Linked DNA regions of Homo sapiens: all the other regions are linked to region 5. Evidence: promoter capture Hi-C in 16 types of primary human blood cells and fetal thymus (Javierre and others, 2016). All regions are on one chromosome and are shown on one strand. Each heading gives the region's core, a stretch centred on a gene start or on the middle of the fragment in contact. The rest is flanking DNA. Distances are from core to core; before and after follow the strand shown.

Region 1 (4,282 bases), core at 92-2,591, 470 kb before region 5:
CTTTAACTGGAGTTTGGATTGAGGATGAAAACCTGCTGCTGACTGAGAAGCAGCCAGGTGCCTCCAAAGACTAAAGAGCCCTCCTTGTCTGGCCTCCTCTCTCTCCCCTCTATCTTCCTGCAGTGATGCCAGGCCAGCCTGTCATTTGCAGTCAGGATCCTGCATTTGAAAGATGACTGTTTCTTTCCATCCACCCATGGGCAGTGGCTAAGGCCTGCTCCCTTACCTCGCTGCTCTGGATTTGTGCCACCAAGAGGCCCCACCTGCCTGGCTCAGTTTCTGCTGGGTGATTCTTGGTAGGGTGGATCTGGAGCATACTGATGGCAGCAGAGGTGGTCAAGTTGTTTGTGGAAAGACGGCCCATGTGGTTGGGCAAGCCCCTGCCAAGGGTGTGTAAAGGCTATTAGGCCAGGAGCTGACAGGAAGATACTTGTGAGGCCTCTGCATGGGTGATTTTGGTTTTACACTCAAAATTAGAGGAATGACTGTGACCCTGGACTCTTCTACTTCTGCTGCCAATGACCCATGGGGGCTCCAGAAGTGAGCATGCCAGCTGATACACATTTTCTGTAATATTGTTGTTTTTCAGAGTTATAGGCAGTTGACCATAGACCTAAACCACAAATAATGGATGGTCTTCTGGTCAAAAGGGCCTATGTGTCAGGGACAAAGAATGGAAAGGGACAAATTATGGGGTCTGAATCCTCTTCTCTAGCCTGGCATAGGAACCCCAGGCATGGGAAAGCTTCTACTCTGGATCTGAGAGCTACTCTCTTATGGGAGTCAACACTTCCAGTTGCATATAATAAAGCCCAACTCGAGCTAGGCTAGTGAAAATAGTGTACCAGCTCATGAAACCAAATTAAGGGAAGGAGATGAAGGCTTGGGACAAGGGACTTGGATACTACCAGGATTCTTTCTTTCCACATCTCCTCTCTAGTGCTGATGACATTGTGCTAGTCTAGATTTCTTCATTCCCTAATATCACTAGCATTAAGAAAGGAGTCCCTTCTGTTAGTTCCAATTCAGAAATCCCAGAGAAGTAAGTCTCTGATGGGCTCAGCTTGGGTCATGTGCCTGTTCTTGAACCATTTCACCATAGCCAAGGGCAGAATAAACTATGGCTCAGGTTGAGTGAGATTCCCCCACTCTGGTCAAACTCTTGATCTTGGACACCAGGTCTGTAGGTCTGAAGAAGAGATTAGCTCTCATTGAAACCCCAAGGCTATTACTCCTGAATAATTTGAGATCTTGGTAGATTCTACAACTAGAAAATAAGAAAGTAGAACCTAGAAATCTGGTGGTCCCCCACCAGATTTCTAGGATCCTATTTATAGATGGCCTTGAAATTCATCAGTAGTGTTCCAGTTTCAGAAATGCTGACTGGCTTCTCACTTTAGCACAAATGTCTCCTCAGTTGCCCCAGGACTGCACAGTCTGTTTGCAAGACATAGGGAGAGAGGAAAAGGAGCAGAAGGAGGACCTTGGAGCTCTCAGGTGACCTGCTCTTTTCTTCTGCCCCACAGGTTCCCAAGGAGGTATGTGAGTGCTGACAGAGATTCCTTCCTTTGGTGAGAAATAGCTTGGCTGCCTTCAGGATGGGCAGCCAGCAGCGTCTGTTTCCTGTGGTAGAAGCTGGTTGTTCCACAGCTCTCACATGATCCAGTCATGAATCAAACCACATGAGTAGGCTGGTAGCTCTGAGAGTGGGTGAGGACCATTGCAAGTCCCATCTGTCAGGCCCTCATGGAAGGAACAGTGGTGACCTTTTTCCCCATGCCCCTGGTGGTCTGAACAAGGTGATTCCAATGGGCAGCCAAGGTTGAGAACCAGTGTTCTATCTGGGCTTCCTCTAGCTGGAGTCAGTTGCACTAATTATGTATAGGTGCATCCACCCTGCTCAGCTTTACCCCAGTTCTTCTGGGTTTTCAAGCTTGGCTAGCCATGAAGCATGTGCCAGCAAGGCTCAATTCATCAGCTCTAGTGTATGCCTTGATCCAAGGCTGCAGATTACTGGTCCACCTGCCCTTGGCTCACAAAGTGCATGTTATTGATTACAGAGGGAACAGACAAGGAAGTGAATGGTTTAGAGCAAATACCTCTTACTGATGCAGGGCAGGTGAGCCCTCAAATTGGGGCTTAGCCTGGGAGGGTTCTTGGCTTCACCCAGGAAAAAATTCAAGGACCAGACAGTGGTGTTAGCAACTTTTATTGAAGTGGCAGGGTAGAGCAGCAACAGAGGTCCTTGCAGAGCAGGGCTACCTCATAGTCAGTGAGCCCACAGTAGCAGCTGACAGGCAGGTCCACACTCATATTTATACCAACTTTTAATTATATGCAAATTAAGGGGCAGATTATGCAGAAATTTCTAGAAAAAGAATGTTAACATCTGGGTTGTCAGGTTGTTGCCATGGAAAGGGGCAGTAACTTCTGGATGTTGCCAAGGCAACAGTAAACTGATAGGGCACACTGGTGGGTATGTCTCATGGAGAGGTGCTTTCACCTCTTCCCTGTTTCAGCTAGTGCTCCATTTGGTCCAGCGTCCTGCTGGGAGTTGAGTCCTACCTCCTACCTCATTACTACTGGAAAATAATTAAAACCAAAGCTGATTTAAGTCTGGGTGATGGTGGTTCCCATCAGAAATGCCCCATTTATATGAGAGAGAGGTGACGTGCACACACAATGGAGCTTTCTCCAGCAGCACCTCACAGTGCCCTCAATGTGTCACCCTGGATCCTGTGCTCTACGAGTGCCGGGGGGCCTTCAGGACAACAGTTGTCAAACTTAGAATGTGCTTCTGAATCCCCTAGAGGGCGTGTTGAAGCACAGATTTTTGGGCCCTGCTCCTGGAGTTTTTGATTCTTTCAGTCTAGGGTGGGGCCTGAGAATTTGCATTCTAACAAGTTACCCTGGGGTGCTCCTGCTGATCCTGATCCCACACTGAGAACCACCCTTAGTTAAACCTGCCCAACCTCCATCCTGTAACTTTGAGCTGAGCTATGTCAAGGGCAGATGTGGGGGCCAGGGACCTTGTGGCACCTGCTTACTTGGGGTCCCTAGTAGGACAGAGTCTTACCTAGATCTTGCCTCAGTGTCCTCCAGTTCCCACTCTGGCCCCCAAATAGGACTTCTCTAACCTGCTCCACCCCTGGATTCTTGCTGGAACTCAGTTTGCCCCCTTCCCAACCCAAGACAAATTAGAGTAGCTTCCTTACTTCAACTCTCCTGAGTGCTTTCTCCTACCAGTGCCCTGTCTCCTCCCTTTGCTACCATCAGGTATGGCAAGAATGACCTTTAACTCATGACATGTAGGCCTTGGTCACATCCTCTCTGGCCACACCACCAGCATTCTCCTGCCCAGAATGTAAGCATTTTTAGGGAGAATCTCAAGGACTGTGGGCACCCTAGTGGCCGGGTTAGTGGGGACTGCCTGAGGGCTCTATGTGGAGTCCTGACTAGGGTAGTGGGGGCAGGTGGCCTGCTTCCTTCTTTGCTTAGCAGATCTGTAATCCAAAGAGGGTCTGATGACCAAGAATGAACACTGTCCACTCTGGGGTGGACATTTCAGCTCTGGGTCACACAGAAGTTAACAGCCCTTGCAGTGTATCAGCACCTGGCCTCTGTCACAGGCATCTTGATGAAGATTGATGGTAAAGACACAGTGTTATGGGGAGGCTTAATTACAGCAATAATAACTTTGGCACCTGTGTTTTGGAAGCACTCTGCAGTCACTAATTAACCTGTGTCATGCACCAACAGCCTCCCACCTCCCCGCAACAAATAAGTGGGTCTTGGAGAGCATCGTCGCCTGTTGAGGAGAGTCGAGGCCCTGGGGAGGCTGGGGGGACCCCAGACTAGGCCTAGCTGTGGCCGCCCCCTCTGCCTGTCTCTTTTAGAGCTGCCTCCCTGGGTTCCCAGACTGACCATCCTAGTCTCTTTGCAGAGCAGTTTTCACAGATAGTCAAAGGTGAACAAGTTTTTGTGGCAGCTTTTGCTTGAGGACTAGGATTTAAGCTCTTTTCTCCAGCCTTGGGCCTGTACTGGGAAGATCAATGCCACACTCCCAGAGACAGCTGCAGAATGAAAGAGCCTATTGGATTAGAGAGGAAAAATATCCAGAGAGAAGCTGAGCGCACACTAGAGACCCTGTCCCTCAACCTTCGTTTAACTGGGGAGGCCCAGAGGTCAAGGTCACACAGTCAAGATCAATGCCTCAAACAGGGCCTGGCACCCAGAAGGCACTGAAAATACACTTGATGATTGACATACAGTGAGTTCACAA
Region 2 (3,989 bases), core at 176-2,675, 370 kb before region 5:
TTTCTAAATCTCCTTCTTCCTTTGTGGCTGAGAACGTCACTCTCAAGATAGAAGCAGCTGCAAATGCCATTTCACTTTCCAGGCTTTCTCAAAGCTGTGGAGTGCATGTCAAACCCAACGTTGACTAAGGAACCAGCAAGGGAAGCCTTCTAGAGAACTACTAGGGAGGATTTTCTCTCTGGCAACAAAAGAAATGTAAAAGAGAGGCTGTCCTCCCTTCCTTCTGATGGGCTTGTGTGAGAACCAGTGGTCAGCGGCCATCCAGCTACCTTGAGGGGACCAGATGACACTGAGGATGGCAGAGTGCAAAGAGGGGAGGCAGCAGGTGCCTGACAACTTCATCACACAGAATTAACCAAGCCTAGAACTTCCTGTTTCCAGACAGCTCGACCTGTGAGATAATAAATGTCCTTATTGTTTAAGCCATTTCAGTTGAAATATTCTGTACTCGCAGCCAAAAGCATCCTAGGTGATACACACAGAAAACAGAGTCTTCCCACGCAGGAGATTAACACCCAGGGGAGACAGGAAATGCACCCATCAGGCATCTGAAGAGCATTTACCAACCCATGTTGTCCCCATAATTTACAGCTGGGTCTTATTTTAGAAAAGAGATGCATTCATAGAAACAGTGTGTGATACAAATTATAATTCTCAATTAATTTCATAAATGTTTCTGAGATGTGGTTTCTACAGTCTTAATTGATCTTTAACAATAGCTCCTAACACTTTGGAGTTTCTTTCTTCTGGTTTGACAAGTGGTAAATAGCTGGAAATCCCTACCATTAAAGTAAAATTATTTTGTAAACAAGGTATCCTTTTTACCAAATGAGTATTCATTCTTTAATTTACCCTTCTGGTAATTTCAGATTTTGGAAATAAGGGTCCTCAGGAAAGCCTCATCTGAATACCAGGCTCTGTGACCATGTTTATTATTCTCAAAGACCAGAGAAGGGTAAAGCATGTAATTGTGTCTGCACCTTATTATTCCAAGTGTTTATTGTAGCCTTAGCTGTGATTGGTGTAATGAGATGATAAAATGGTGCTTGTGGCTGAAACTCCTGGATAATACATCATTCAAAGGAAGAGGGAGATTTTTTGCAGAATTTACCATGGAGCTCTCCACAATCCCATCACATACATCTCAAACCCCTCATCCTTAGTGAGGACCTCAAAGGCTTTGGAGTTGAAAATTAGGAAGTGGATTTTCAGAGAGAGTCCTGGTGAGCCCCGTGGGGGATTGGTTCACCTCCTCCGCCTCTCTCCTGTTCAGAAGCCTGTTCCCGGATTCCCTTGTTTGCAGAGTGTTGAGTATGGTTTAATTCTGCCAACAAGTGCCTTGAAGCTAGATTAGGAAGCCGGAGTGGAGGCTGAGCCATTCTTCCTCTTCCAGCATAGTGGCAGGTGTATTAACTCTGGCCAGCATGAGTTCTTCCAGTGTATTTTTTTCCCAGCCACTCTTTTGCCTCAGGGCTGCTGAGCAGCTGTAAACATCAGCAGCAGTTTCTGAAGTTTTTTGACTCCCAATTGCAAAGTTAGAGGGGACAGCCTGCCTGACTGCCCTCACTCTGACACCAATCGCAAATTCAGGAGGTTCCAAAAACTCCTGAAATTATTTTCTAGAAGTCCCCACAGAACTCATGGAAAGCTGTTAGACACCCAGTTATGATTTATTACAGGAAAAGGATACAGATTAAAATTGATCAACAGAAGAATCCAGAAATATTCCAAATGCAGAGCTTCTGTTCTCCTCTTCCCAAGGTCAGGATGCATTAGTCTTCTGGCATCGATGCATGACAATATCCATGGAGTATTGCCAACCTGAGAAAGTTCTACTGTTTCATCTTTATAAATTAAAGTGACAAGCTGGGTGTGTGCCTGTAGTCCCAGCTACTAGGGAGGCAGAGATGAGCCCAGGAATTCGAGGCTGTAGTGAGCCATGATTGTGCCACTGCACTTCAGCCTGGGTGACAGAGATAGACTCTGTGTCTAAAAATTAAACAAAACAAGTGGGTTCTATTTTCCTATATGATAAGGCATGGGAAGTACATCCTTCTTCTCCTCAAGTCAAGATGGAAAAATTTGAAACAGATCATCCGGAAAGTTCAATATGGTTTCCCTGCAGTTTGGGGGACACATTTGACCAGGGTCTGAGTCTCCTTGAAGCACAAGTTTTTGCTGCACCGGGATCGGCCTGTACTCCAGGGGTCCGCCAGGTCAAATGATGTGGAACCTTGGGCTCTGTGTGAGAGAAGGTCAGTGTGGTTTCATCTTAGGTCCTGTCCAAGGGGGTCCCCTGGAGGGGCAAACAGATCTCAGCTGCAGGGAGCTGGAGTAATTGCTGATGCCTAAGAGGCTGGGGAAAGAGTGAAGAATAAATCCAATGGATATGCTTTCATTTACATCAAGGGATCTGATGGCATGAGACCTCCAGCTTTAGGGTGTCTCCAGAAAAGCCATGAAAATGCATATGAGACAAAAAGTCTCCTTAGCTTCAGAGGGAGTCAATTGAGTCATAGTTTGTTGTTGTTGGTTTTTGAGACAGGGCCTTTCTCTTTCCCCCAGGCTAGAGAGCAGTGGTGCAATCATGGCTCACCACGGCCTTGACCTCCTGGGCTCAAGCAATCCTCCTGCCTCAGCCACCTGAGTACCTGGGATACCAGTGCGCATCATCACACTTGGCTTTTTTATTTTTTGTAGAGATGGGATCTCACCATGTTGCCCAGGCTGGTCGCGAACTTCTGAGTTCACGCGATCCTCCTGCCTCAGCCTCCCAAAGTGCTGAGATTACAGGTGTGAGCCACTGCACCCAGTGAGTCATAGATCCTTTGGGTTATAAGACACTTATCAGCCAGCTATTGCCATAGTAATTTTGCTTAACAAACTACTGAAAACTTAGCAACCTAAAACAATAAAGCATTTATTTCTGACTCCTCTGTCTGCAGGTTGGCTGGGTTCGGCTGCTCCAGTTTAGCTGGGCTTGAGTGTAGACTGTGGGTTGGGTACAAGTCCATGCATCTCTCATCCTCTTTGTGGTGGTGGACACCCAGGGCATGTTCTTTCCATGGTGAAAGACAGGCATACAAGATGGCAAGCCCAACCACTCCCATTGGCCTAAGTAAGTAACACAGGCAAGCCAAGAGGCAAGATGTGGTAAGGTGCACCCTGCTCACCCTAAAGCCATGCCAAGCATGGATGGCTAATACTGTAAGAGGGGAGTACAGATTTGGGGCCAGTCATTCGATTGACTTCAGTACCATTTAAAATTTTAAATCCAAACTTAAAGATAAATCATCCCCTTTCTGTGATCTGGGTTCTCAGCCAAGCAGGAGGGAGTGCTGGGGCTGCCACTGGGGACTGATAGTCACTGGGGACACTGGGACACTAGACTTGGCACCAAGAGTTCCTAGCCTCACCCTGCTGAGTGAGCCAGAAGAAAAGTGATGTGAGACACCTGAATGCTCTGGGCTGGGACTCTGGCCTGCAAAATGAGAGGGCCTCAGCCTATCCCACTGAAACTATTGCTGGGAAGGTCCCACGGGCAGGCTGACCTCATGAGTTCATGACCTGTGAACAGAGGAAGCTCTGGGCTTGGTTTAATGCTCTGGTGTTGCTGACTTGGGATTCTGAATAGTTTTTAGACAACAGGGTCCCACATTTTCATTTTGTACCAGTCTCCAAATTTTATGTAGTTGGACCTGCCCATGGGAGTGCAGTTTTCCTGAAGATTTACTCATGTAATCAGTAAATCCAGCCCCAGAGGTCTGCTGCTCACTGTCACCTCATTCATTCTGCAATACTAATGAAGATTACAGCCACCATTTATCCAGTGTTCACTAGGGGCCAGGCACTGTGCTAATTAGGGCTTTACAAACAGCATTCTAAACCTCTACATTAGTCCATTTTGTGTCGCTATAAAGGAATACCTGAGGCTGAGTAATTTATAAAGAAAAGAAATTTAATTGGCTCATGGTTCTGCAGGCTGTACA
Region 3 (4,562 bases), core at 1,292-3,791, 400 kb before region 5:
ATTTGTTCTCCCTGATCTAGTTTAACCCTCACTTGATATTGAAGTATGGTGTGTTAGGCTGTTCTGGCTGCTGTAACAGGAGACCATAAACTGGGTGGCTTATAAACAACAGAAATTTATTTCTTACTCTTCTGGAGGCTGAGAAGGCCAAGATCAAGGTGCTGGTAGATTTTGTGGTGGATAAGGGCCAGTTTCCTAGTTCATAGATGGCATCTTCTTGCTATAACTTCACATGGTAGATGGGGTGAGGGAGTTTCCTGGGGTTCCTTTTATAAGGGCACTAATTTCATTTCTGAGGGTTCCACCCTCATGACCTAATTACCTCCCAAAGGCCCATCTCCTAATATCCTCACATGAGGATTGGGTTTCAGCATACAAATTTTGGAGGACAAAAACACTCAGTCTATAGCAAATGGGCAGTAGTTTTTGGGAGGAATGGAGAAGGTCAGGGCATTCTAGGTGGAAGGAACCTTCTAGGTGTGAAGGCACAGAGGGTGAGTGGTGTAACATCACTTCCTTAGAGCTTTGCCCACAGTGGGTCCAGGTTGCCATTTATCACAGTGCTGATGGTGAAGGTGATTTCTTTAAAAATTGGAGCCTTGGAGGGTTTTTCTCAGTTCCTTGGGGCCTCATCCATGATGAGCTCTGTCTGTTCATCCATGATGATCTTTACTGTGGGTTCTTTCATTAACTGCGGGACGGGAGGAAGGATTTTCCTTTGCATGGTTGTCATGCAGAGTGGTCCTGGATGACAGAGCATGTGTGCCCACCTCTGCGTGGCTGATCCACCATGGAGGGCTGGTGCTATCTTTTGGCCTCTGAGCTTCAGTCGGCCACTCCCTGCATGAGGCTGGGGCTCTTTAGCCCTCGTGTCTTTTCTCCATGCTTGACAATTTAATTTGTGGACTGCAAGGAACTGTTAAGTATTGATTCACTTTACTGCAAATAGTTCCCTGGTTTCTGAATCATTCTCATCAAACCCCATCTGTTGACTTCAGTTTAGATTTGAGAGTTGCCTTGTAATCTACCCACTCTTTATTCCCAATGGTATTTGTGTCTCTCACGGTTCAAAGAGGAGTGTGACTCTCTGCCACTCTTCAGGAGTTTCTGTTCCACAGTTTAGGTAGTGTGGGGCAGTGGTTCTGAATCAGCAGAAATACCCATGGAATCCTTAAAAAAATAACAACTCTATTGAGATATCATTTACACACCATACAGCGTACTCATTTAAAGTATATCAGGCAATGGCTTTTGTGTATTCAGAGTTAAGCAACCATCATCACATAATTTAGAACATTGTCATCACCCTAAAAAGAAACCCTGTACTCCTATTACCAGTCGCTCTCCATTTCCCCCAACCTCCACGACCATCCCTAGGCAACCACTAATTTACTTTCTGTCTCTACAAATTTGTCTATTGTGGACATTTCATATAATGAAATTATACAATATGTGGTCCTTTGTAATTGACTTTTTTTACTGAACATGATGTTTCAATTACTATAGCATGTATCAGTACTTTATCACCCATGGGGTGTTAAAAATACAGTTTAAAAATACAGTCTTTCACATGTCCTACAAAGTGCTAGAAAAAAAATTTTAAAAATTGACGGGGCGCAGGGGCTGATGCCTGTCATCCCAGCACTTTGGGTGGCACTGGTGGGCAGATCACTTAAGGCCAGGAGTTCGAGACCAGTCTGGAACACAGTGAAATCCTGTCTCTACTAAAAATACAAAAATTAGCCAGGCGTGATGGCACATGTCTGTAATCCCAGCTACTGGGGAGGCTGAAGCACGAGAATCGCTTGAGCCTGGGAGATAGAGGTTGCGGTGAGTGAAGATCACACTGCTACACTCCAGCCTGGGTGAGAGAGTGAGACTCTGTCTCAAACAACAACAACAACAACAACAACAACAACAACAACAACAACAACCACAAAACAAACAAAAACCCCTGATTCCTGGAGATCCTGATTCCATAGGTGTGGTCTCTGCAAGCAATTTTATCTGGAATTGAAGACCACTGGTGTTCTGGGACAAAGGTTTTGAAACAGACAGGGGTCCAAATTCTGGCTCTACCACTTATTGAGGTGTATAAATTTGAGGAAGTTACTAAATGCTCTGAACTTCAGTTTCTCCTGGAAAATGGGATAATTATGTCTAGCTTGTGTGGCTATTGTTAGGATGAAATGAGATACAAGTATGTAGAGTACCTAGCCCCGAGTGTTAGCTTCCTTTGCATACTACTGTTCTGAGATGTGTTGGTTGAATTATTAGTAAGGATTTGAAGGCTATGATGCATTCAACACTCAGTGCGGATTATAGATCCAAGAACACAGACTTTCTTAAAGTATGAGGCTTACAGGACTTTTTGTTTGGCTAATTAAAGTGATAGTCTGTTTTAGAATTCTAATTATTTATTCAGAGATGGGGTCTTATTATGTTGCCCAGGCTGGAGTGCAGTGGCTATTCACAGGCATAATCTGAGCTCACTGCAGCCTCAAACTCCTGGGCTCAAGCAATCCCCCTGCCTCAGCCTCCTGAGTAGCTGGGGCTGTTTCAAAATTTTAACATTGGTGCTGTAACATACGCACTGTTTATTGATTAGTTGTGACTGGTGAGAAAATTGTAGAGTCTCTAAAAAACTTAACTTTAGGAGCATAAGTGCATTCAAAACTAAATCCCTATTGACTAGCACAGCGTTAAAAAAAAATAGTCGTGGCACTTTGGGAGGCTGAGGCAGGCAGATCATTTGAGGTCAGGAGTTCAAGACCAGACTGGCCAACATGGTGAAACCATCTCTACTAAAAAAAAAAAAAAAAAAAAAAAATTAGTGGAGTATGGTGGCGGGTGCCTGTAATCCCTGCTACTTGGGAGACTGACATGGAGAATTGCTTGAACCCTGGAGGCAGTGGTTGTAGTGAGCTGAGATCACACCACTGTACTCCAGCCTGGGCGACAGAGAGACTCCGTCTCAAAAAAAAAAAAAAAAAAAAAAGTTGTGGAGTGAATGTAAGTTGGACACAGAAAATCCCTCATAATATCCTCCTGTTTGGTTGTATAGTGGCCTATGAGCAGATTCTGTGGCTTAGACTCCCAGTCCCATGGTTCCTGGCTCCTGATGTCTTTTCCCATAACATTTTGACATTCCAACAAACTCTAATTAGCTGAATGATCAATCACAGAAATGTAAATGTAGAAGCGAATTTACAGATCATACAGCTCCACCCTGTAAATAAACCAGGATGATTAGGGTATTCACGATATTGCAGATTGGCCAGCTCATGACTTGCCCTTTGTTCCTAGCTCTGTGCCTGGCCTCAGAGGAGAGCCTTGGTGCACGTTTGACTTTTTAATCTTTATTTGAACCTGTTACACACCGTCACCCCCACTGCTCTGCTTGCCACAGACATGGAAGGTTCACTAAGGCCTTAAGGCACTCATGCAAGCTCACAAGAGAAAGAAATCTATAAGGCATGTAGAATTTGGACTCAATCATGTTGGTCTTTAATGTGCCTAGAGCAATGGAACGGGCACTTTGGGGGCGGTGGAATTCAAGACGCTCTGGCTGAAGATTCAGAAGTATCTGGTAACTCTCTTTTCCTTCTGGGCATCCTCTCCTCTGTTCTAATCCTCCCTTACACTCATTCCTGGTCCATTGTATTCTGACCACATCCTTAATCATGGTCAAAACTATTGAGTCCTGGGCACATTGGTCATGAAGGAACAAGAAGGCAATGAGAGACTCTCATGCCAACCACTGCCCTGAAAGCCCTGCTGTTCAGACAGCAAAGGGGCCAGCACTGGCCAAGCTCTTATGCTTGCTCTGAAACCTTCTTGGGAGGAGTCAATAGGGTCTCCTTTTGAAAGTGTCCCTGGCCTTTTGAGAAAGCAGTGTGGTGGAGGGAGATGGTTCTGGCAGGGGCCGTGAATGGTTGTTTTCTACTTGGGATTTCTTTCCTGCTTTAGGAGATCTATTGGGAAACTGATTATAACCACTCGGGCACCATCGATGCCCACGAGATGAGGACAGCCCTCAGGAAGGCAGGTGAGGACACATCCTGTAGACAGGGTCTTGGGATCCAGGTGTGCACATTGTAAATATTTATTCTCATGATGATGATTGCTAATGATCATCATTTGTAGCTTTCTTATATGGGATATCAAGGCAACAACAGAGCTTTGTTGAGTACCTTCCCTGTCCAGGAAGGGGAGAATATTGCTCGATTCCATATAGCATAATATTTTAGAATTTTTCCAAGATCTCTGCCTGTTACTGGGAAGGTGACAGCAATTACAGAGGAAGGGGCTATGAAGGAGACAGACAGGAACTGGCCAGACAGGCAGCCCCCTCACCTTCTCTGCTTTTGCTTGCTGATGTGACCCATGGCTGAGTTGGTGCTGGTACTAGCGCTGGACCTGGAATTAGGCTGATCTTGGTGAGGAGTAGCTACAAGGAGAGGGATGGATGGCAGGACACCTTCTGGGATCCCCTGGAGAAGGCAGAGTCAGGCCTGGTTTGCAGATTGATACAGAACCACAGAGGGGCCCCTGGGATGTCA
Region 4 (4,392 bases), core at 1,816-4,315, 490 kb before region 5:
GGGCTCTTGCCACATATCAACTCTGCTGGTGCTTTGATCTTGGACTTCCCAGCCTCTAGACTTGTGTTGTTGTTTCTAAGGCATCAAGTGTATGGTATTTTGTTATAGCAGCACGAATGGACTAAAACAGGTGGTTTCTCACTTTGTAAAGTCTGGTTCCTCCCCCACCATCCTAGGATGGCACGTGGGTATAAGGAAGGCCAAACAATGTCCTCCCACCAATGAGAGAAGCCCGCTAGTCCTTACGTACCCTAGTGCTGACTTATGGGTCCTTGCTGGCCTCCTGGAGATGTGACTGGCATGTTGTGGGGTCTCTTCTGATTTCCTCAGGGTCCAGTGGACCTTTCCTGGCTGACTCAGCCCCACCTGAGTGCTCCTTACTGCTGCAGACATGACACATCACAGCCTCCGTTCAGTGCCTGACCCAGAGGTCCACCCCACAACCTCTGCAATAGGATTGAGCTGACTTTTTCCTCCCTGCCCTCAGCTCAATCTTACATAATACCCGAGGGAGACTTGGGGGCACTTCCGTTGTCTCTCATCTTCTGTGTAAGTGCTCCATGATGCCATCTTTACTCTGCTTCTGGATTCCTGAATGGGCAGCAGGGCATACATGTTCCCTGCTTTGGCTTCTGCTTCAAACTACCTGAGGCTTTACTCTTGTTTCCACTTCAGCCATTGTTCAACCTCAAGGTAATGTAGGGGCTACTGTAGGGTTTCTGATGTCTGACCTTTCTTCTTTCCTTCCTCTTTCTTTCTACCTGCAGTCCAGAAGTATCTCCATTTCTTCCCTTGGTGTTTGAGAAATTCCATTAAGCTATAGCTCGAGTTCTTGCTACCTACAGTTTATAATAACATTAGACATCCCGACCTTTAAGCTTTGATTTTAATGTGTAAAGGGAATTTTTGAATTAAGGGATTCTTTTTTAACAATGTCTGATTCAGGATTATTATCTCCTGGTGGATTTTATTTTATTTTTTTTCTTTTTGAGGCGGCGCCTTGCTCTGCCGTCCAGGCTGGAGTGCAGTGGTGTGATCTTGGCTCACTGCAACCTCTGCCTCCTGGGCTCAAGTGATTCTCTTGCCTCAGCCTCCTGAGTAGCTGGTACTACAGGTGCCTGCCACCACGCCTGGCTAATTTTTGCATTTTTGGTAGAGACAGGGTTTCACCATGTTGACCAGGCTGGTCTTGAACTCCTGACCTCAAGTGATCCACCTGCCTTGGCCTCTCAAATACATTTCTTTTTTTTTTTTTTAAGAGAGCATTTGTTATAGTCTCCGTTTTGGGACCAGACACAGGCATTACCATCCAGGTCTTCCAGTCTCCCTAGAATAGATTCAACCCAGTGCAATGTGTGTATTTGAAAGGCTATTCCCAACTTTATTTTGGAATTCCTTTTGTGGAATTCTTTTTTCAGAGCCAATTTATGGGGCATACCAAATCACTCTGTAGTCATGCTTCTAATATCAGTTAGAAAAACCTTGGGCTACAAGAAGCATAAATAGGGGGCAAGTTCTTCTTTTATAATAAGAAAACTAGAGGCAGACAGCCCAGGGCTAGTGTAACTTTAATAATGCCCTTGGAGAGCTAGACTCACACTGTGCTCTGCTCTGCACTCTCCTATGCTGACCTTCATCTTGCACCTGCAGCCTTGGGATTGCAAGCTGGCTCTGCACCTCCAAGCACAGTGTGGACTTTCCAGATGGGAAGAAGGAGGAAGGGCAATGGGCAAAAAAGTCTCTGCCAGCCAAGTCTGCCCCACTTCATCAGGACATGGAAACCTTCCCTAAATTCCCATGAAGTGCACCTCTGCTTAAAGCGCATGAGTGAGCACTAACTCCTGAGCAGCCCTAGCTCGAAGGTGGCCAGGAGGGACTTGTCTATCAAGGTATTTCCCAGTGTTTTTGTCTGCCTTATTCACCACCTAACTAGTATGTCAAAGCCTCCTGACTGCTTTTGAAAATTAAAAAATTGAAAATTAGTCAGGTGTGGTAGCTCATGCTTATAATCCCAGCACTTAGAGAGGCCAAGGTGGGAGGATTGCTTGAGGCCAGGAGTTCAGGATCAGCATGGGCAACATAGTGAGACCCCAGCTCTGTATTTAAAAAAAATAGCTCGGCATGGTGGCACATGACTGTAGTCCCAGCAATTTGGGAGGCTGAGGTGGGAGGACTGCTTGAGCCCAGGAGGTCAAGGCTGCAGTGAGCCATGGTTGCACTACTGCACTCATCTGGGCAACAGAGCGAGACCTTGTCTCAAAACAAAACAAAACAAAACAAAACCTATGCTCCAAGATCAAAGCTGTTTTTTTGCTGGCAGTTCCCCAAACAAGTTTCTAAATGTGAACAGCAGAGTAAATGTCCATCTTCCAGAGGACTCTGAAGGGAAGCACATTTGGATATATTCCTTTGAAAACGCATTCTCGTCATGACAATCCATTCACACTTCATGCAGTGACTGGCAAGGATCCAAAAGCCTCCAAACCCACAGCATCCCTTCGAGCCTCTGTGCTTGCTTGCAAGAGCTGGGTAGACCCTGTGAAATGTCAGGAGTGAGGTAGATGAAGAGAAAATTAAACTCTCCTCCAGCTGGGCCACCTCATTTGATGTCAGCAACGGAGGGACATTTTGTTGCCGTGACTTGAATTGTAATATCTAGGGAGTGCTCTGGGTGGGCTGTCGGAAGAAGCTTAGACCGGGAGCCAGAACCTTCACATCGGAAGGCAACCAGGACCATGCCCAGTAATGAGGGCTATGTGGCTGCTCTGATCTCTTTGAGAAGCCACTAGCTTTAGAGGTGTTGCAGAGCAGTCTCCCCCTTCACTCCCCAGAGGACTGGGCTTCTGTGCTTGCCCTACCTTGTTTATCTCCCTCTGCCTGATGCTGGTGAAAGTGAAATCTGTCAGGTTTGATGCAGATTCTTGTTGAATGCCACTTCCCCACAGACTTGGGAGGCTGAGGTGCAAATATATGTAAGATGCTGTTGGAGATTTGCAGAAGAACAAAATATGATTCATTGATTCATGTAGTCATCTGCTTATTTGTTTTTATTCATCAAACATCCGTTGAGCTGCTTCTGTGTGTCAGCCACCTGCTGGGGATGCCGAGATGAGTGAATCCACATTGCTGCTTTGCAAGAAGAGGTCAGAGAGGGATGAGGGAGAGAGAAAAACAGATGTAATCAAGTGGCCTTAGAACTTGCTGGGGAGGTGTGAGGAGGAAGGGCTTGGTGCTGGTAAGACAGGCCAGGGATAGGGGTAAGGAAAGCTCTGCCAAGGAGTTGATGCATGAATGGAGTTTTGAGGCCAGTCTGGGTGCAAATCATGATCTGAGGCAGCTTGTGATAACTCTGCAAGAGAAGCGTAAATAAGGTCTTTAGGACACATACCAAAAAAGCGGTGACTTCTGGCTGGAGGGTAGGCGGTATCAGAGAAAGCTTCATGGAGAAGGGGTAAGATTCATCAAGAAGTTTGCAAGCAGAGGGAACAAACAAGAAAAATCACATCAATGAAAACGACCAGGGTATGTTTTGTACATATCCAAGTTCGATTGGGAGATTAGATTCATAGCGGAGAGTGTAATAGGAAAAAGACTGGAGAAGTAGGTTGGAGTCATATTGTGAAGGGTGTTGATGCCCTGTTAGGTTGTATTTCATTGGTGAGCAATGGAGGACAGTTGCGAGCAGGGGTGTGACATGATCACAGGTGTTCATAGAAGAAAAATGGGCTGAGAGGAGCTGGGTGGGAGGAGGACACTGTGTTATTTTGCTCAACCTTTGGAAGTTGCCTTTTAATGAGAGACTGCCCTGCTTGAGGCTTCTTTGGTGAGAAGTAACATAACTCATGCCAGCCCATCCACATCAACTCTGTTTCCCTCGACTACCAGGTCTAGTCTCACCTAGGAGCCCTGTTGCCATTAGGAAGATAGTGTTTGTCTGTGAAACAGAGCCTGGTGAGAGAGTGAGGCAGGAAGCAGGTTGCCTCCTGGATCAGAAAAGCTCTTCAAAAAGTAATATGGCCAGGCATGGTGGCTTACACCTGTAATCCCAGCACTTTGGGAGGCTAAGATGGGAGGATCACTTGAGTCCAGGAATTCAAAACCAGCCTGGGCAACATAGTAGGATCCTGTCTCTATGAAAAAAAAAAAATTAACCAGGCATGATGGCATGCACCTGTAGTTCTAGTGACTCAGGAGGCTGAGGTGGGAGAATTGCTTGAGACTAGGAGGTTGGGGCTGCAGTGAGCCATGATGGCGCTACTGTACTCCAGCCTGGGCAACAGAGCAAGACCCTGTCTCTTAAAAGAAAAAGAAAGTAAATGAGTATGTGTGTGTGTGAGACAGAGAGAGAGAGCGAGTGAGCGGGAGAGAGAGAGAGACAGACAGACAAAAAGA
Region 5 (4,148 bases), core at 5-2,504:
TGTCCCCAACCTTGCCCTCGGTTCCACTACCAAAAGAGGGAACACTGGGCTTGCCCCAGCAAGGTGTTATTTATGTCAGGCTAGGGCCACTGTGGCTCCCAGCTCTTACTGCTTTCTAGGTGCCCTTACAGACTTCCCCACTGCCCCCTGCATATGCCAGAGTGTGAACATCCCCTCCCTCTCCACAGCCCCCACAGTGGGGTTCGGGTGGGCAGGGAGGTGGTTTCATCCCTCTACATACAGCCCTTGGAGACCTACCTAGGCAATTTGTCACTCAGGCTTCAAGCTGCCAGCCGAGGAGGGGAGCTGAGAAGACTCTATAATGAGATCTTTGCACTGTAATTAAGTGCCAGGCTTTGTTTTACACCTATCTTTCCCGCCTTGCCCGATCCCACCGCCAAGCTCCTCCAGGCAGTGAGTGGGGAGTGTCAGCTGCTCTGTGATTACACCCCAAGTGGCAGGTGGCAGGGAGCTCCTCCGCCTGCAGTCTGCGCCCCACCCCCAGGCTTCCCCCACCACCAGTCTTAACTCAAGACAGTGCTATTTCTGTCCTTGAACTGGGTTTCACCCCAGAAAGCCACTCCACCGCTTTCTCATAAGGCTACCTCCTTTTAACCCTGTGGTTGCACGGCCTCTGGGGTGTCCATTTCTTTCTTTTGACACGTCCCTTTTCCTGAAAGTTTCAGCAAACCCCATAGGCAGAGGGAGTTAGAAAAAGGAAAAGAGAAGTTAGGGCAGGAGGAGCACTGTTCTTATAGGACAGGAAGGGTCTGTCTTCTCTCTTGGGTCCTCCACACAAAATCGGAGCTTCCAAACACCCCAGCTCCCAAACATATGCAGCAGATTCTGCTGACAGGAATGTGTCACTGTGATCTTCACATTTTAGCCTGAAGTTTAGCCTACCTGAAGAAGCACCGGAGTGGGAGTGGGAGAACATGGGATGGTGCTTCTCTTTGGCCTGGCTGTGCTTTTGGACACTTCAGGTCTTCGGCCTGGGTTTCCTCCTCCGTACGATGAGGAGAGGATGGGAGGGGGCAATGCTGGCATGTGTGATCTCGATAGACACTGTGGAAGTCTGCAGAGACCGGAGCATAACCTCTGCCTCCTCTCCCCGGGCCTAGCCTCTCACAGCCCTCAGAGAAAACCCTGAGCTGCGGCGTGGCCGAGACGGGGGCGTGGCCTGGCAGGTGGGCGGGCCCTTCCGTGGGCGGGGCCGCGAGGTTTTCAGGAGCCCGAGCGAGGGCGCCGCTTTTGCGTCCGGGAGGAGCCAACCGTGGCGCAGGCGGCGCGGGGAGGCGTCCCAGAGGTGAGCGCCCTGCAGCGGCAGGGGATGGGCCGGGGGCCCTAAGTCGTAGGCAGCGCGGGGCGGGGACGCGGCTGCCTGCGGAGGTCGGACTCCTCTCCGCCCTCCTCCCGGGCTGTCCGGGTCTATTTTCCAGTCTATGTCCAACTCGCGCCGCCTCACTAGGCGGCGCTCTCTGCCCCGCGGCACCCGCGAGACGTGGGGTCCCTCGGCCCAGGGACGGGGTGAGCGTGTCATGTGGGTGCCCTGTGCCCGGCAGGTTGGAGACGAAGAGACCTCGGCACAGACGAAGTCACTCACATCCTCGCTTTGAAACAGAGCGGGTCCTTCTTGTGCTGTCTCGCTGTCACTCTCGCCCCCACCCTGTGGAAGAGGCAGGTGGCTTGTCCCCAGTCACTTTCTTCCTTGGAAAAGGGAGACAGAGGGCCATCTCCAGCAGGGCCATGGAAATCCCAGAAAGTCACTGAGCTGCTCAACAAAAGGCCCTAAACACCCCACCCCACAGCACCAGGCAGTGCACACTGGCCAAGACTCCGTGGTAAATATTGCTGGCCTTTATGTTGAGAGGGGGAAAAAAAAGCCTGCCTGTGAAGATCATTGCCCAGTGGCCATGCTCCTGTGAAAACACAATTGGAAAGCCATTTCCTAAGGGGCGAGGGTGGGTCTGGGACCATGCTGTGGCTTGGGTGATTGGTGGTTGCAGGAGTGAGGGTGCTGCCCTGGGAAGGCGCTGAGGCCCTGTTGGGTGGGAATCGACGGCTGCGGCTTTCTCCCGGAGGAGGGAGAGCGGTGTTGTTACCTAGTGTTGGGAACACATCCGTCCAGCACCGTGAACTGCAAACAAGCAGAGTAACCCTAGTGTCCTTCAGATACTGTTGCTGAGCAGTCACCTAGTCAATGAGATGATCTGTTTGGACGGCAAGTGCATCTGTAATGCCGCCCTCTTGCTCAGTGCCTGGAAGAGGCATTGGTGACTCCCCGCTAATGCTAGGGGTAGCTACCGTGCAGGAGCAGTCAGGCTCTTGCAGGGCCAATGTGGTTTCATCAATTTTCTCCTGCATTTACCCAGCCCCTCCGAATTCTGAGAAGTGCGTCCAAGATCTCTTGGACTCCTTGACTCAGTTCACCCTTGTTCTTGTGGGCAGAAAACAATTCCCAGTGTGCCATGCACAGCCAGTCAGAAGGGAAGCCCTGGAGCAGGGCCCTGGGAGAAGTTCTGTGGGGCTGGATGCTAATTATTCAGTTACTGGATTGTGGGGAAATTCCAGGGGAGGTCCCAGAGGAGAGACCGTGCTAAAGCTAATTACTAAGCAGTACAAAAATAATCTCTCTCTCTCTCTTTCTCTCTCTCTCTCTCTCTCTCTCTCTCTCTCTCTATATATATATATATATATATATATATATATATATATATGTAATTTTTTTTTTGAGACAGTCTCACTCTGCCGCCCAGGCTGGACTGCAGTGACACAATCTCGGCTGACTGCAACCACTGCCTCCAGGGTTCAAGCGATTCTCTTGCCTCAGCCTCCCAAGTAGCTGGGATTACAGGTACCCACCACTACGCCTGTCTAATTTTTGTATTTTTAGTAGAAATGGGGTTTCACCATGTTGGTCGGGCTGATCTCAAACTCCTGACCTCAGGTGATCCGCCTGTCTTGGCCTCCCACAGTGCTGGCATTACAGGTGTGAGCCACTGTGCTGGGCCAAAAATAATCTAAATTTCAACAATCAGCATGACCATGCCTGTGCGTATGACCCTAATTATCAGTCTGACTGATTCTTCCTTCCAAAATGATGGCAGAGGATCACCTCTTTGGATATTTACAGCTCTGAGCAAAGCAAAAAGCATGTAGGTGCCATTGTCTGAATGCAAAACCAGCCATGCCAGGTTTTCGGTGTTGTTTCTGAGGAGGGAGCGCCTCTCTGGAGGACGGTGTTTCCAGAACAGTGCCTCCGTTGTTCATTCCCGTGCATCAGGAAGTTTGGCTCTGCTGAGTGTTGAAAGCAAAACTCTCCTGTTTATTTGTCTCTGTATACTAACAGACTTAAACAGCAGACAGCACTGGAATGTCCAGTTACTGCATCCAGATGTGTTTGTTTCACTCTTAACATTGTGGAAAAGAATGCAGAAGGCAGATCCAAAGCTTCAATCAGATTTCTGAAGCTTAAGTGATTCCCAGCCTTGGTCCCTTAATGTGAGAGCAACAGCGTATAGTGTCTTCCGCTCTCTGGGACAAACCCAAGTTTGAGGCATAGTCCCTGCTGTCCAAAAGCTCCTAGGTCTAAGTAGGAAGACAAAACCAGCACCTGTGAAACAATTAGAGCGCAATTAAGTGCGAAAGTATGTGGCAGCATCTGCTAGCTCAAAGAAGACAGCTAGTGCAGACTGACTGGGAAAGGAAGAGAGAGCTTCACAGAGCCAGCTGGTGTTCAGCTTGACTTAAGAATGACCATCAAGGGCTTGGCCAGGCCTAGGAAAGGAAGCATGAGGATATATGAAGCTCAGAATAATGAAAGGCACTTGCTGCCCAGAGCCAATTCAAATTCCTGCCTTCCGGGAATTCTGGCTGTGGGTCCTGCCACTCTCTTCCTCACCCAGCCATGATGCCCTTCTTATAGCATTCTAACCATGCCTTTTTTTTTTTTTTTGAGACAGAGTCTCACTCTGTCACCTAGGCTGGAGTGCATTTGTGTGATCTTGGCTCACTGCAACCTCTGCCTCCTGGGTTTAAGTAATTCTCCTGCCTCAGCCTCCCAAGTAGCTGAGACTACAGTCACGTACCACCATGCTCAGCTAATTTTTGTATTTTTAGCAGAGATGGGATTTCACCATGTTGGCCAG
Region 6 (4,428 bases), core at 1,552-4,051, 340 kb before region 5:
GGGCTGTCCTGCCTCATGCCCCTGCTAGTGCCTTTCTTCTGCTTGGAATGGCCCTGGGCCCCAGCACCATCACTCACTGTCTCCTCCAACCCCCTCCAAAGCCCAGTTGTTCAACAAGAATCTAAATGACAGAGACCCTGTGAGGACACCGGAAGAGAAGGGCCTCCCTCTCCCAAGCTCTAATGACCAAAGCTCCCCGGAAAGATGTCTCAGAAGCTTGTTTTGAGCGAAGAAAAACTGCAGATGATGGGGAAGGCATCTCCATCGTGAAAGCTTTATGCTAGGAGAACAAAGGGTGAAGAGAGACCACTAGAAGAACACAGACCGTCAGCCTTCCTCCCTCAGTGGGTTTCTCAGCACAGCCTCCTCCAATACTGTTTCATGCTTAGGGTCCCCAACAGAGAGAACTACCCTGAGTACCCCTGCCAGGCTGAGAGGAGGGGAGCAGTCTGGCTGACAGCTGCCTCTGGCTGACAGCACACTGTCCTGGAGCCTGGGGCCTGGGTCAGTGCCTGCTAGGCGGGCAGCAGTCATAGACAGCCGGCGAGGCCCCTCAGCCCTGCAGAGAGCCTTCCAGGTTCTGAGTCATGGATTATTAAACCTAGCTTTTTGGTGTGTATTTGGGGGGTGGGGTGGGGGTTTTGATAAACCACCTGTGACCCTTGGGTGGTTTTGAATCTCTCTGAGTCTTGAGTATCTCTTTGGAAAAAGAAAAGGATGTCACCAGACAGAGTTGCAGGGAAGTCAGCTTTGTACTTCATATTCCACCGGGGTCAGCTTAAATCCATTCACCATTAGGCTTTCCCTAATTCCCGGCTCCGTGGTTATTAAATCTCTGACTTTGAACACCTGCAGCATTGGGTTTGTAGCTCTCTCACGGCACTCGTAGCTGTAAAGTCAGATAGCTGTAAACTCCTGTAGGCTGGAAATGGCTCTGACAAATCTTTGTATTCCCCTGCCATAGCCAATGGAATGAAGTAGAAATTATTCACACTTGGTTGATTTGAAAGCTCACAATATGAACCAACATTTATGGAAGCTTTTTTTCTACGTGGCAGGCAAGCATTTTGCACAGGCTTTTCTCATGTTGTTCTCACAAGGAGACCTCATGGGGCGGGTACTTTGATGAGCCCCGATGACATCTTGGAGAGGTGAAGTAACTTGCCCGAAGTCATTCAAGCAAGCAAGAGGTGCCCTCAGGACTCAGCCCAGGCAGTCTAATAGCAGTCCACCCTCTCAACTTCCGGTGCTGTATGTCTGCTAGTTCATAAGCATGTGATGGTTTCACAACATCTGAAACCCCACCCCAAAAGAGGATTCAGAAGGTTGTTTTGAGAGAAGGAAAATTGCAGACAACAGGGAAGACTTCTCCATCATGAAAGCTTTAAGTTAGGAGAAAAAGGGAGACGAAAGACCATTGGAAGGATGCAGACCAGCAGCCTCCGTCCCCTTAACTGGCTGAGCTGCTGGTTTGAGCTATCTTCTGCAGCTTACAGAAAATCAAGCTTCTCCCCAAAGAAGAAATGAAGATAACTACCCAAAAGGCCGATGGCTTTACAGCTTGGCAGACATTGGAATCCCCTGGAGAACTCTTTTTTTGACACCTGGTGAGGTCTGTGGAGAGAAACCTGCAAGGGAGTGTGAATCTTCCCTTGTTTTTTTTTTTGCCCCTGGAAACCACCATTCAACTTTCTGTCTCTGTGAATTTCACTGTTCTATGTACCTCATGTAAGTAGAATCATATAGTTTTTATCCTTTTGAAACTGGCTTATTTCATTTAGCATAATGTCCTCAAGGTTCATTCATGTTGTAGCATGTATCAGAATCTTCTTCCTTTTCAAGCCTGAGTAATATTCCATTGTATGGATAGACCACATTTTGTTTATCCATTCAGCTCTTGATGGACACTTTGGTTGTTTGCACCTCTTGGCTATTGTGAATAATGCTGCTATAAATATGAGTGTGCAGATATCTGTTTGAATCTCTGCTTAGAATTCTTTTGGGTATATACTCAGAAGTGGAAGTGCTGGATCATTTGATAATTCTATTTTTAATTTTTGAGAAAGTTATACCATTTTCCACAGTGGCTGCATTGGGAGGATTGATTGAGCCCAGGAGTTTGAGGCTGCAGTGAGCTGTGATCGCACCACTGCTCTCCGGCATGGGCAATAGAGTGAGATTCTGTTTCAAAAAAAAAAAAAAAAAAGTAGAGTGACGTAGATAAAACACACTTGTCATTGACGGTGGCATTTAGTAAACATTCAGCAGATGCTACTCTCCTAACTGTTCCCCTTTCTTCACTTAATCTCAGAATCCTGCCTTGATACAAAACAGTATCACATGTGTGCACCTAGGGGAGAAGAAGAAGAGAAACAGCTGGAAACGTGGATCTCATTGGATTACAGAGGGCCTTGAATGCCACATAAGGAATTTGGACTTTCTTCTGTGGATAGCTGCAGTAATGGGTTGAACTGTGTCCCCTCAAAATTCATATGTTGAAATTCTATTCCCCCAGTAATTCAGAATGTGAACTTATTTGGAAATTGGGTCACTGCAGATGTAATTAGTTAAGTTAGGATGAGGTCATGCTGGAGTAGGGTGGGCTCTAATGCAGCACGACTGGTATCCTTATAAAAAGATACTAGCACTGAGAGAGCCAGCGCTGGCCTGGGGGAGCACGGGAGGCAGCAGTGAGAGCTGTGTGTTTGGGAGTCAGGAGGTGACTGAGGCCCCACGGCGAGCGTGCAAGTGTGCGTTTGGTTCTCGGTGTGTTGGGCAGCAGGGGAACCATGGGATCCAACACACATTTTTTTTTTTTTTTTGAGACGGAGTCTCACCCTGTGGCCCAGGCTGGAGTGCAGTGGCACGATCTCAGCTCACTGCAACCTCTGCCTCCCGGTTTCAAGCGATTCTCATGCCTCAGCCTCCAGGTAGCTGGGATTATAGGCACCTGCTACCACGCTGGACTGATTTTTGTATTTTTAGTAGAGACGGGGTTTCACCATGTTGGCCGGGCTGGTCTCAAACTCCTAATATCAGGTGATCCACCCTCCTCAGCCTCCCAAAGTGCTGGGATTACAGGCATGAGCCACCGCCCCCGCCCCCAACACACATTTTGCAAGAGCAAACGCACGGAGGAATGTTCTGTTTGAGTGCACTTGTAGCTGTTGGGCTCTGGGCAAACCGTATGAGCCCTGAGATCCACAAGGAGAGGAGGAGTTCCTGGAAGTGGTGGAGGTGAAGGCATTACAATGAGCTGCCTCCCTTTAGCATCCTCAAGCGGCGTCCCGACCCCTTCAAGTCAAAGGCAGACATGTTCAGGGAGCACCTGCTATGAGCTGCTGCCCAAAGAGGTGGATGGGGTTGTCTCAAAAGGTGAAAAGACACAGGGAGGCCCTGCCCACAGGGCCATCTCCTGTGGGCAGCAGAGGCTTGCTCACAGCAGCTCAGGCAAAGAGCTGTAAGTCTGAAGAGCCAAGGGCGCTCTGTGCAGCAGGAGCTGGAGGGAAGCAGTGTCATTAACATCCCTGCCATTTGTCATCATCAAAAGGTATTTCTTAAGCACCTAATTGAGCCTGATACTGTGCTTGTGTTTTATTTTCAGAGCTTGTAAGGACTAAACAATGTGCAAACAAGCAAATCAAATATCCATATAAGGCAGGTTACTTGTTTCATTAATTTTCCTTTTCTCTCTTCTCTTCTTTCTCTTCTCCCAGTTTCGAACTCTCCAGACCTGGCTAATTACAAATGACGTGTATGCACAAAAGGTTATCATGGAGCTGCGGTTCACCTTCCAGTGATGATCATCCCACAGCCCCAACCCACACCCTCCACCAACACACAATTTTATACACATAGTGCACACATACCCCACACCACAAAATTACCCTCACACACATGCACCACACAGAGCCCAGACCACACATTCCTATACACCACATGCATGCAACGCACATACCAGACACACACATACACCCGACACACTACACACACCACACACACCCCACACCCCACAACACACCACACACACGCAGTCTGCAGGCTGTCTGGAGGCTGCTGCTGCTATCCAGAGAGACGTGGTGAAAAGACTAAGCTTTTAGGGACCATGCAGGCTCAGAAACGGACAAGAGGAAAGAGCTGCGACAAGCAGGTGAGCTGAGAGCCACTCACCAGAACAGAGTTCCAGCAGGGCTGCCTCACGCTAAGGAGACCTTCCCTGGCCCACAGCCAGGTGAGCAAGGCATCTCTTGGCTCCTGCCTCCTCTCCCATGTCACTTCACTCTCGAAGAGGAGAAGGGCTGCCTGCTTGGTCTGATTCTTATGTTAAAGCTGGAGGGAAGTAGGGGGCACGACAAGGGTAAAGAGTGAGCGGGTGAGGGTGCAGGGTGTGGGCACCGCCCTCCGGCCCCTCTCTGAGGCTGGGAGTGT

Evidence for each region. The method cuts DNA at HindIII sites, captures the fragments that hold promoters and counts their contacts. A CHiCAGO score of 5 or more calls a contact.
Region 1: a contact is called between a fragment that was not itself captured here and the fragment with the promoter of TLR5 in region 5, in 4 of 17 cell types (M1 macrophages, M2 macrophages, M0 macrophages and 1 more). The highest score is 11.0, in M1 macrophages.
Region 2: a fragment that was not itself captured here is called in contact with the fragment with the promoter of TLR5 in region 5 in 1 of 17 cell types (non-activated CD4 T cells); the score reaches 5.0 in non-activated CD4 T cells.
Region 3: a contact is called between a fragment that was not itself captured here and the fragment with the promoter of TLR5 in region 5, in 2 of 17 cell types (M1 macrophages and M0 macrophages). The highest score is 8.2, in M1 macrophages.
Region 4: a contact is called between a fragment that was not itself captured here and the fragment with the promoter of TLR5 in region 5, in 6 of 17 cell types (naive CD4 T cells, M1 macrophages, activated CD4 T cells and 3 more). The highest score is 8.2, in naive CD4 T cells.
Region 6: a contact is called between a fragment that was not itself captured here and the fragment with the promoter of TLR5 in region 5, in 1 of 17 cell types (M1 macrophages). The highest score is 5.0, in M1 macrophages.

What each region holds. Positions count from the first base shown.
Region 1 is chr1:223,609,502-223,613,783 of GRCh38, reverse strand. It overlaps CAPN8 (calpain 8), which reads left to right. Exons shown (of 21, transcript NM_001143962.2): 11 at 1,527-1,538. Among named protein-coding and RNA genes, the nearest start is that of CAPN8, 54 kb to the left of the region's middle. The HindIII fragment of the contact is 1,188 bases long and covers 748-1,935 here.
Region 2 is chr1:223,510,856-223,514,844 of GRCh38, reverse strand. No RefSeq gene overlaps it. Among named protein-coding and RNA genes, the nearest start is that of CCDC185, 120 kb to the right of the region's middle. The HindIII fragment of the contact is 6,761 bases long and covers 1-3,989 here.
Region 3 is chr1:223,544,258-223,548,819 of GRCh38, reverse strand. CAPN8 (calpain 8) reads left to right here. Exons shown (of 21, transcript NM_001143962.2): 17 at 3,521-3,589; 18 at 3,970-4,048. Among named protein-coding and RNA genes, the nearest start is that of CAPN8, 120 kb to the left of the region's middle. The HindIII fragment of the contact is 5,683 bases long and covers 1-4,562 here.
Region 4 is chr1:223,630,259-223,634,650 of GRCh38, reverse strand. All of the region lies in intron 2 of CAPN8 (calpain 8), which reads left to right. Among named protein-coding and RNA genes, the nearest start is that of CAPN8, 33 kb to the left of the region's middle. The HindIII fragment of the contact is 747 bases long and covers 2,692-3,438 here.
Region 5 is chr1:223,140,354-223,144,501 of GRCh38, reverse strand. It overlaps TLR5 (toll like receptor 5), which reads left to right and starts at 1,254. Exons shown (of 6, transcript NM_003268.6): 1 at 1,254-1,306; 2 at 2,739-2,854. It overlaps LOC124904522 (a long non-coding RNA gene), which reads right to left and starts at 1,147. Exons shown (of 2, transcript XR_007066895.1): 1 at 904-1,147. RefSeq lists a silencer at 1,096-1,465. The HindIII fragment of the contact is 3,848 bases long and covers 1-3,452 here.
Region 6 is chr1:223,479,738-223,484,165 of GRCh38, reverse strand. No RefSeq gene overlaps it. Among named protein-coding and RNA genes, the nearest start is that of CCDC185, 89 kb to the right of the region's middle. The HindIII fragment of the contact is 2,588 bases long and covers 1,508-4,095 here.